Linked DNA regions of Homo sapiens: region 1 is linked to region 2. Evidence: promoter capture Hi-C in human tissues and cell types (Jung and others, 2019). All regions are on one chromosome and are shown on one strand. The core of a region is centred on a gene start or on the middle of the fragment in contact, and the rest is flanking DNA. Distances in the headings are between cores, read along the strand shown.

Region 1 (4,531 bases), core at 1,312-3,811, 500 kb after region 2:
GGGCACAGGGTGGGTTTGTGGGTGATTCTGCTGAAGCCAGGGAGATGACGTCTGTTCAAGGACCCTCAGCCTAGAGCCCAGGCTCCAGGAAGCTCTGCGGGGGACAGCTGGCGTCACTGGGCATCTCCTTTCTGTCTGCTCTGCTCACAGAAACCTGCAGGACACTGCCCATAAGGTGAAGTGAGCAAAGAGGCCAGGCCAGTCCTTCCCAGCCCCACGAAGCCAGTTCAGCAGGACCCCATGTGGATGGGCTTCTGCAACCGTGAGCAAAGGGTTGTGCCCAGCCTGTGCCCAGCCCCTAGGACACACACGGGAAGGGCTTCTTCCTAATACCTGCCGCCTGCTGCCTCTGCACAGCCATGATGTGCACCCTGCTGCAGGGAGCAGGCACCCTCATCCCTGTGGCCCATCTCCCCCTTCTTGTCCTCACTCTGAGGCCATAGAAAACTGGCCTGCAGCATCCTCACCCTCAACCTTGCCCTGCTGGGAAAACTTAGACCCTCAACTAAACTGGGGCCCCTGGACGCACTCGCTCAGCCGCAGTTCTCAATCTTCCCTCTGCCTGGAAGGCCCAGTCCTGTGTTTCACACTTGCTAAGCAGAGTTCCCTCTGAACTCAGCCCCCTGGATCCAGCCCAGCCCTCCTGGATCCACTTGCCAGAGTGCCCCTGACCCCGCCAGCCCCTCCCACTGACTCCAGTGCAGGTCGGTGAAGGTGACTGTGGCAGCTCTGGTAATCCTGGGAGAACCCCCGGGATTGAGTACAGCTCTCAGGCTCTGATTACAGCTGATTACCATAATGGAGAGAATATCTGGATTCTCCCCTAATTTCCTCTCCTCTTAAAATTTTCAATTAAGAGCCTAATCTTGATGGAAAATGGCTGCTTTCTGGAGTATTCTCTGCAGTGCTGATTCCTCATTGCTAAGCGCTTTTTCTAGACAGATAGAGGCTCTCGATGATTCCAAATAAAATCAGAGCAAAGGAGCTTACCCCAAGAAGGGAGGAGAGCAGAGCAGCAATAGGCTGTGCCCCGGACCCCTCCCTGCTGCTGGAGACACCGGGTGGGTGAAGGGTCTCTTGGGCCCTTCCAGCCTGCAGAGCTGCTGAGAGCCAGGCCTGGCTGCCAACAAAGCAGCTGAAGTCTTGAGAAAACTTCCTGATTGCATTAGCGAGGTCGCACCACCAGGACATAATCAAATCTCCCTGGAGGACATGGCTTCCGGAAGGGCTGCTACAAGCCAGTGGCAGAACAAGGGCAACCAGGGTCAGACACAGCGGAAGGAGGGAAGTCCCAGAGCCGGGCGTGGGTGGGCATCAGAGGGGTGTGGGCTGCACCATCTGGGTGCAGGGGCCAGCAGGCAGTGCGGATCCACCCAGCCCAGGGCCAGCCTTTCCCAGTGGTCACGTGCAGAAACCTGGCACACGTCATGGGGCAGCGGTCCCATATCATAGGCCCTCCTGGTGTTAGCAGTCAGGAGGGTGCCTAGAAAAGCCCCACGGCCACAGGGACTGCAGGATCTGAGCCTGACCTCCACACCAGGAGCCTGCCCAGCACCGTAGGCAGGGCCCAGGTGCCCTGCTCAGGAATGAGCTCTGGTTCCAGCTCGGCCATCCTAGTTTCACCCTGTCTGTAACTTAGCTGACCAGGAAGATGGCTGTGACAACCACAGAAAATCCCAACACAGAGCTGGCATGAAGGAGCTGTGCCCATGGGAGCTTCGGAGTCCTCAGGCCAGGCCGGCCCTGGCTCTGCCACCTCCTGGCTGGAAGACCTTCAGGCACCTACTGAGCCTCTCAGGGGCTCAGCATCTCGTCTGTGGGACAGGGATAATAATAGGGTTGTTTTGAGAGTAAAAGCACAAAACACAGAGCCTGGCTGAAGAAAGCACAGGTAGCTGAGGTCAGCCAAGGCTGAGTTAAGTGTTCTTCTTAGAAGAGCAGACAGGTCATTCCCTGAAGGCATCAGTGTGGGCAGGAGGGAACCTGTACTTTGCAGTCCCAACACCTCAGGACACAATTCCTGCTAACCTGACCCACAAAAGACCAAAGGACACACCCAAGATCCTGGACCAACATCCCACAACGATGCCTCCTGGTTTCTTCTCTAAGAATACTTCTTAAAAAGTTCCCCAGGAAGCTAACTCTATGTTCCTAATGTATGGACCATGGAAAGAAAACAAGTGTCTCAGTAGGTGTGTTCAACAAATGTGCAAATGCAGGGATGAACGAAGATGCCCAAAGTCAAGAAGCACCTCAGTCGCCTCCAACGTGCTCGGGGGCCACATCCACCTCCAACCTCTGCCCTGTTCACGTTTTCCTCCACCCAGATTCCCCTCTTGCCCTGGCACTCCAGGAATTGTTTGATGTCCTGGAAGCTTCCTTTCTCTGTTCCACAGCCCCTGAGCCTGGCGCCTCCCTGCATGCCTGTCCACCTCACCCACCAAGTTCCAGGAGCAGGCATCTGTCCTGCTCACCCCGACTCAGCAGGGAGGGCTGAACTCTGGAGGCTGAGTGGACCTAGACCTGCCCCGTGGCCTCCTGTGCCTCCGTGTCCTCCTCACCCTCGACTCACCAAGGAGCCCTGAGGACATGAGAACTGGAACATGCCCAAGACCCATGTCGGGGCCTGGCACACATGAAGCGCCCAGTGAATGCTCGATGACTGAGGACAGCATCGCTTCTTCTAAGAGGGGAAAAAAAAGAAAGTCAACCAGAGACAATTTGTAAAAGATGGCTTTTGACTGAGCCCTTGAAGGATGGGCAAGGATGGGCAAGGGGAGGGGGGACTCAAAGTGAAGGATGAGAAGGCTCTAGGTGCATGAGTGCCTGTACATGTGAGCATGCATGTGCATGTGTGTGCATGTGCATGTGTGTGCATGTGTGTGCATGTGTGTGTGTGCATGAGCCTTGCAGCCTTGCATGTGTGTGCATATGCATATGTGTGTGCATATGTGCATATGCATATGTGTGTGCGTATGTGCATATGCATATGTGTGTGCGTATGTGCATATGCATATGTGTGTGCGTATGTGCATATGCATATGTGTGTGCGTATGTGCATATGCATATATGAGCATGCATGTGTGTGTGCCCTAGTCCAGACAGGGCTCTGAATGCACTGTGGGGGACAGATGATTTCAGACTCCACCATGCGTCTGAAATCAGTGGGACAGATGACCTTGAACAAGGCCTTATGGCTCACTTAGTGTGAGCCAGACTCCTTAGAGACAGTGACGGCAGGACACACACGTGGGGGTCCACCTTCCCAGAGCTGGAGCCCACATAGCTCCAGGACCTCAAGGGAAGCCCAGGGGCTGAAGGGCCCAGGAGGTCCATCCATGTGATGGACCCAAGGAGACTTTGGTGGCTTCTCTGTTAAGATTTGAAGGGGGCCAGGTGTGGTGGCTCATGCCTGTAATCCCAGCACTTTGGGAGGCTGTGGCAGGGGGATCATGAGGTCAGGAGTTCAAGACCAGCCTGGCCAACATAGTGAAACCCCGTCTCTACTAAAATACAAAAAAAAAAAAAAAAAATTAGCCGGGTGTGGTGGTGGGTGCCTGTAGTCCCAGCTACTTGTGAGGCTGAGGCAGGAGAATCGCTTGAACCCGGGAGGCGGAGATTGCAGTGAGCTGAGATCACGCCACTGCACTCCAGGCTGGGAGACAGAGCAGGACTCCATCTCAAAAAAAAAAAAAAAAAAAAAGATTTGAAGGGATCCCAGGGGGCAGGGCTGGGTGGGCACAGGATGGAGACAGCGACACCTTTGGTCTTGGGTAGCCCCTGCCAGCCCCAGCATATCCTCAGCAGATAGGGTGACAACAGTGCCACTACCTCTAGTGGGAGGCTCAAGAGAAATTCACGTGACGCACCTGCCTGGGCTTGGTGAGTGAAAAGCTCCCCACTGACTCGAGCGCTGGTGGTGAGGATGGAAAGGGAGGTAGAGATGGAGGCGACAGCGTGGGCAGAGCAAGAGCACAGCCATGGAAGGGAGGTCCTCCCAGCTAGCCTTCAGGAGGCCCATGGCCAGCCTCAGGGCAGGAGGAAAGAATGTGGACCAAAAGCGGAACGTCCAGCCAGGGGAGGCCCCAGCAATGGCTGTATCAGGGCTGAGTGTGATCACAGGAAAAGCCACCCAAGGATTGAAATCGAGTGGAGTCAAGACTACGTGGAAGCCTACCTCTCCATGATGGCAACTTTGGAAGAACGTGTGACCTTGCGGAAGTGCACAGAAGGCACTGCTGGCCTGAATGGGTCCTTGGGCCCTGGTCTCGGGGCCGGCTTTTCTCCCTTCCCCAGACCTGCTGTGGCTCCATCCCCTCTCTCCTGCATCCTGGGATTGCCCCCAATTAACTACCTGCTTACAAGCCTTTTCTTTATTTTCTTTTTGCCTTTTCTTCTTTACATGTAAAGCATGAGTCCATCTGGAGCTTATTTTAAAGCATAGAATGAGGACTGACATTGACCTGTTTTTTTAAATGAAATAACTAGTTGTCCCAACCCTGCTTGTTGGATAATACTGCGGTTTCAGGAG
Region 2 (4,283 bases), core at 185-2,684:
CTGGCAGGGGACCCTACTCCAGCAGACCCAGATTCTGCTCTCAGAGTATAGACCTCCTGTGGTATGACATTTCCCCCTCAGGTTGGAAGTAGCCAGGACCCCATTTACTTGTCCTTAGGGAGGCTGAGTCTTTGAGCGCAGGCCCCCTCCCAGCCCTCTGCATATTGTTAGCCTAGTGTGGTCAAGTTTTCAATACTGAAGCCATTGTCATCATCTGCTGTACCCAGCTCTGGCCTCCTGATGAGATCACAGATCCAGGGCCAGCTGTCTGGGCTGGGTCCCTTCTTAGCAACTTACCAACTGTGTGACTCTGCAGGTTCCTCACTGCTCCTTCACCAGTGTCCTGTAAAAGGAGGATCATCAGAATAGTAGCAACCTCATAAGGTTATAGCGATGGAATTACGTGAACTACTATTTGTCAAGCCTAAGAACTATGCCTAGCACACAGTAAGCACTAAAAACCTGTTACAATAAATACATCCATAGGCCGGGCGCAGTGGCTCACACCTATAATCCCAGCACTTTGGGAGGCTGAGGCGGGTGGATCACCTGAGGTCAGGAGTTCAAGATCAGCCTGGCCAACATGGCAAAACCCCATCTATACTAAAAATACAAAAATTAGCTGAGTGTGGTGACAGGCGCCTGTATTCCCAGCTACTTGGGAAGCTGAGGCAGGAGAATCACTTAAACCTGGAAGGTGGAGGTTGCAGTGAGCCGAGATCCTGGCACTGCACTCCAGCCTGGGCAACAGAGGGAGACTCCATCTCAAAATAAATAAATAAATACATCCATAAATAAACACATGGTCCTTCTGCAGTGGGAGGGAGGCACTGGAGGGAGAGACTGTTAGGCACTGCTTCTGAACATCGGTTCTTGGGCTAGGAGCAGTCTCCAAAGCTGGCTTCCCCCAGCCTTCACTGGTCTCTCTACCTTCACCAACCTGGAGTTCCTGGAATACGAGGGTCTCAACTCTAGGTCACATTTTTTATTTTATTATTATTATTATTACTATTTTTTTTTTTTTTGAGACAGGGTCTTGCTCTGTTACCCAGGATGGAGAGCAGTGGCGTGATCTCGGCTCACTGCAGCCTTGAACTCTCTTGGCTCAGGTGATCTCCTCACCTGAGTATCTCAAGCAGTTGGGACCAGAGGTATACCCCACCAGCTCATATATTCTTTAGCCAAGGGCTGGCTTCTGTTTCCTCCAACCCCCAACCCACCATCCATATGATAGTGGGTGCAAAGCAGGAGGCCTTCAAGCGGCTGCTGCAGCCATATCTGTCCTCAGACCCCTCAACAGGCTCCTCATTACTCAGAATTCTTGGGCACCCACCCCCTTCACCCAGCAGCCCCAAAGTGGACGCCTGCTCACCTGCGAGGTCACCTTGGCGAGGGCTCACCTGAGCTGGCAGCGCAGAGAACGGATCTGAGGAGGCTGCTGGGCACGTGGGTCGGCTCTTTAAACCCTGCAGCCACGCCCAGGGCTCCATGACGCAGGCTGGAGGGAACTGGTCAGGCTCCCTGCCACACCCAGGGCTGTTGGGGAGGGGCGGGCTGGGCCGAAGACCCTCTTTTGGCTTCTTTTTTTTTTTTTTTTTTTTTTTTTTTTCTTTTTTTGAGATGGAGTCTCACTCTGTCACCCGGGCTGGAGTGCAGTGATGCAATCTCAGCTCACTGCAACCTCTGCCTCCTGGGTTCAAGCAATTCCCCTGCCTCAGGCTCCCGAGTAGCTGGGACTACAGGTGCACGCCACCACACCTGGCTAATTTTTTTTGTATTTTAGTAGAGATGGGGTTTCAATGTGTTGCCCAGGCTGGTCTCCAACTCCTGAGCTCAGGCAATCCGCCCACCTCGGCCTCCCAAAGTGCTAGGATTACAAGCGTGAGCCACCGCGCCCAGCCTTTCTTTTGGCTTCTTTAGCTCACCCAGATCCTAAAAGAGGGACCTGGAGGGTGCTGGGCAGGGTGTTCCTGGGCTCTTGTGCCAGCTTTGGGGGTTCTGGGACCTCTGTGTGGGGGTGTCCTGGGGACCACGGAGGATACCAGGAGCCAGGCACTGACCTTGAGGCTCCCTGTGCTCAGCAGTGCCATGCCACTGCTGTCACTTGGGCTGGGTGTCTACTGAAGGGAGGCTGGTGGCCGATGGGCACCCCCGGGGGTGGCTCACCCTCTGACAGGGCCCTGACACCCACTTAGCCTCCCCCACAGGTGAGGGATGGGGCCAGGAGGAGGATAGACGCCCCCGGCTGAGGAGTGGGCTGCCTCCCTCTGCAGACCTCAGGCCTGCCTTGTTGCTGGGGGCCAAAGTCACCCCACACAGGCGTGTGGAGGACCCCAGGCCTCCCTAGTCTGCTGTTACCCCTCCTTAATTCTTTTCCAAATGAGGGACACTTGTCCCTGTCCAGAAGGTAAGGGGGGATGGCTGACAAGGGATGGGGGTCTCTGGGCTGGGAGGGCTGGGGAGGGCAATGATGGTTTAGTTGGTTTGTTTGTTTATTTATATATTTATTTTTGAGCTGGAATTTCGCTCTGTCGCCCAAGCTGGAGTGCAGTGGCTCGATCTTGGCACACCACAACCTCCACCTCCCAGGTTCAAGCAATTCTGTCTCAGCCTCCCGAGTAGCTGGGATTACCGGCACACACCACTGTGCCCAGCTAATTTTTGTATTTTTAGTAGAGATGGGATTTCGCTATGTTGAGCAGGCTGGTCTCGAGCTCCTGACCTCAGGCGATCCACTGCCTCGGCCTCCCAAAATGCTGGGATTACAGGTGTGAGACACTATGTCTGGCCCAGACATACTTTTAAGTGGAAAAAAAGTATAGGGCAGTCTGAATAGGATGCTGTCACTTGTGTAAAAATATAAAATATTGGTTGGGAAAGGCGGCTCACGCCTGTAACCCCAGCACTTTGGGAGGCTGAGGTGGGCCTGTGTCTGTGTGCATGCTGCATGGGGCTTAGCACAGAGGAGGCGTCCCGGTGTTTCCTCAGCCAGCTGTTTACTTGAGTTCATTGCATATATGACTGCACCTAGCCCTCACAGAAGTCTTTGGAGGTTCATACTCTCATTAGCCTGTCAATCTACAATAGTCAAACAGGTTAGATTTTAGTTTAAAGGAGTTTATTTAAGTGTAAAGGTTAAGGATGGCCTGCTCAGGAAGTAAGGATGGTAAAGAATGGAAGTCATGGCTGGGGGCGGTGGCTCACGGTTGTGATCCCAGCACTTTGGGAGGCTGAGGAGGGCAGAACATGAGATCAGGAGTTCAAGACCAGCCTGGCCAACAAGGTGAAACCCCGTCTCTACTAAAAATACAAAAATTAGCCGGGCGTGGTGGCGCGCTCCTGTAGTCCCAGCTACTTGGGAAACTGAGGCAGGAGAATCGCTTGAACCTGGGAGGCGGAGGTTGCAGTAAGCTGAGATCGTGCCACCGCACTCCAGCCTCAGCGACAGAGCGAGACTCCATCTTAAAAAAGAAAAAAAGAGAAGAATGGAAGTCAGAGTTTTAAAGTCTCGGTGGAGTGTGGGGGTTAAATCCTGACACTCTGGGAGGCCAAGGTGGGCAGATCACTTGAGCCCAGGAGTTTGAGACCAGTCTGGGCAACATAGCGAGACCCCATCTCTACAAAAAAAAATAGAACAAACAGCCTGGCGTGGTGGCACACACCTATACTCCAGCAGAGGTGGGAGGATCGCTTCAGCATGGGAGGTCAAGGCTGCTGTGAGCCCAGAAAGCACCACTGCACTCCAGCCTGGGTGACAGAGGGAGACCTGTCTCACAATAAATACGTAAAATGTAGAAGTTTGGGATCATTTATTTTATTTTTATTTTTTTGAGACAGAGTCTCATTCTGTTGAGACAGAGTCATTCTGTTGCCCAAGCTAGAGTGCAGTGGCACGATCTCTGCTCACTATAACCTCCGCCTTTTGGGTTCAAGTGATTCTTGTGCCTCAGCCTCCTGAGTAGCTGAGATTACAGGCCCGAGCCTCCATGCCCAGCTAATTTTTTCTATTTTTAGTAGAGACAGTGTTTCACTACTTTGACCAGGCTGGTCTCAAACTCCTGACCTCAAGTGATCCACCTGCCTCGGACTCCGAAAGTGCTGGGATTACAGGCATGAGCCACCGTGCCTGGCCTGGGATCGTTTATATAGACACAGTTTAGGAACGTTTAACAGGATTTTAGCTGTTTTTTTAATCTTTTTTGAGACAGGGTCTCCCTCTGTCGCCCAGGCTGAAGTGCAATGATACAGTCATGGCTCTCTGCAGCCTCGACCTTCTGGAACAA

What was found. Contacts are between HindIII fragments. The study calls those that stand out against the background at their distance.
Region 1: a fragment that was not itself captured here is called in contact with the fragment with the promoter of FXYD4 in region 2 in 2 of the 25 tissues and cell types used here (H1 embryonic stem cells and dorsolateral prefrontal cortex).

The regions. Positions count from the first base shown.
Region 1 is chr10:42,868,142-42,872,672 of GRCh38, reverse strand. LINC02623 (long intergenic non-protein coding RNA 2623) reads right to left here and starts at 1,152. Exons shown (of 2, transcript NR_134479.1): 1 at 991-1,152; 2 at 1-164. RefSeq lists enhancers at 807-1,306, 1,307-1,808. The HindIII fragment of the contact is 5,667 bases long and covers 1-4,531 here.
Region 2 is chr10:43,368,787-43,373,069 of GRCh38, reverse strand. FXYD4 (FXYD domain containing ion transport regulator 4) reads right to left here and starts at 1,434. Exons shown (of 9, transcript NM_173160.3): 1 at 1,373-1,434; 2 at 298-343. The HindIII fragment of the contact is 15,718 bases long and covers 1-4,283 here.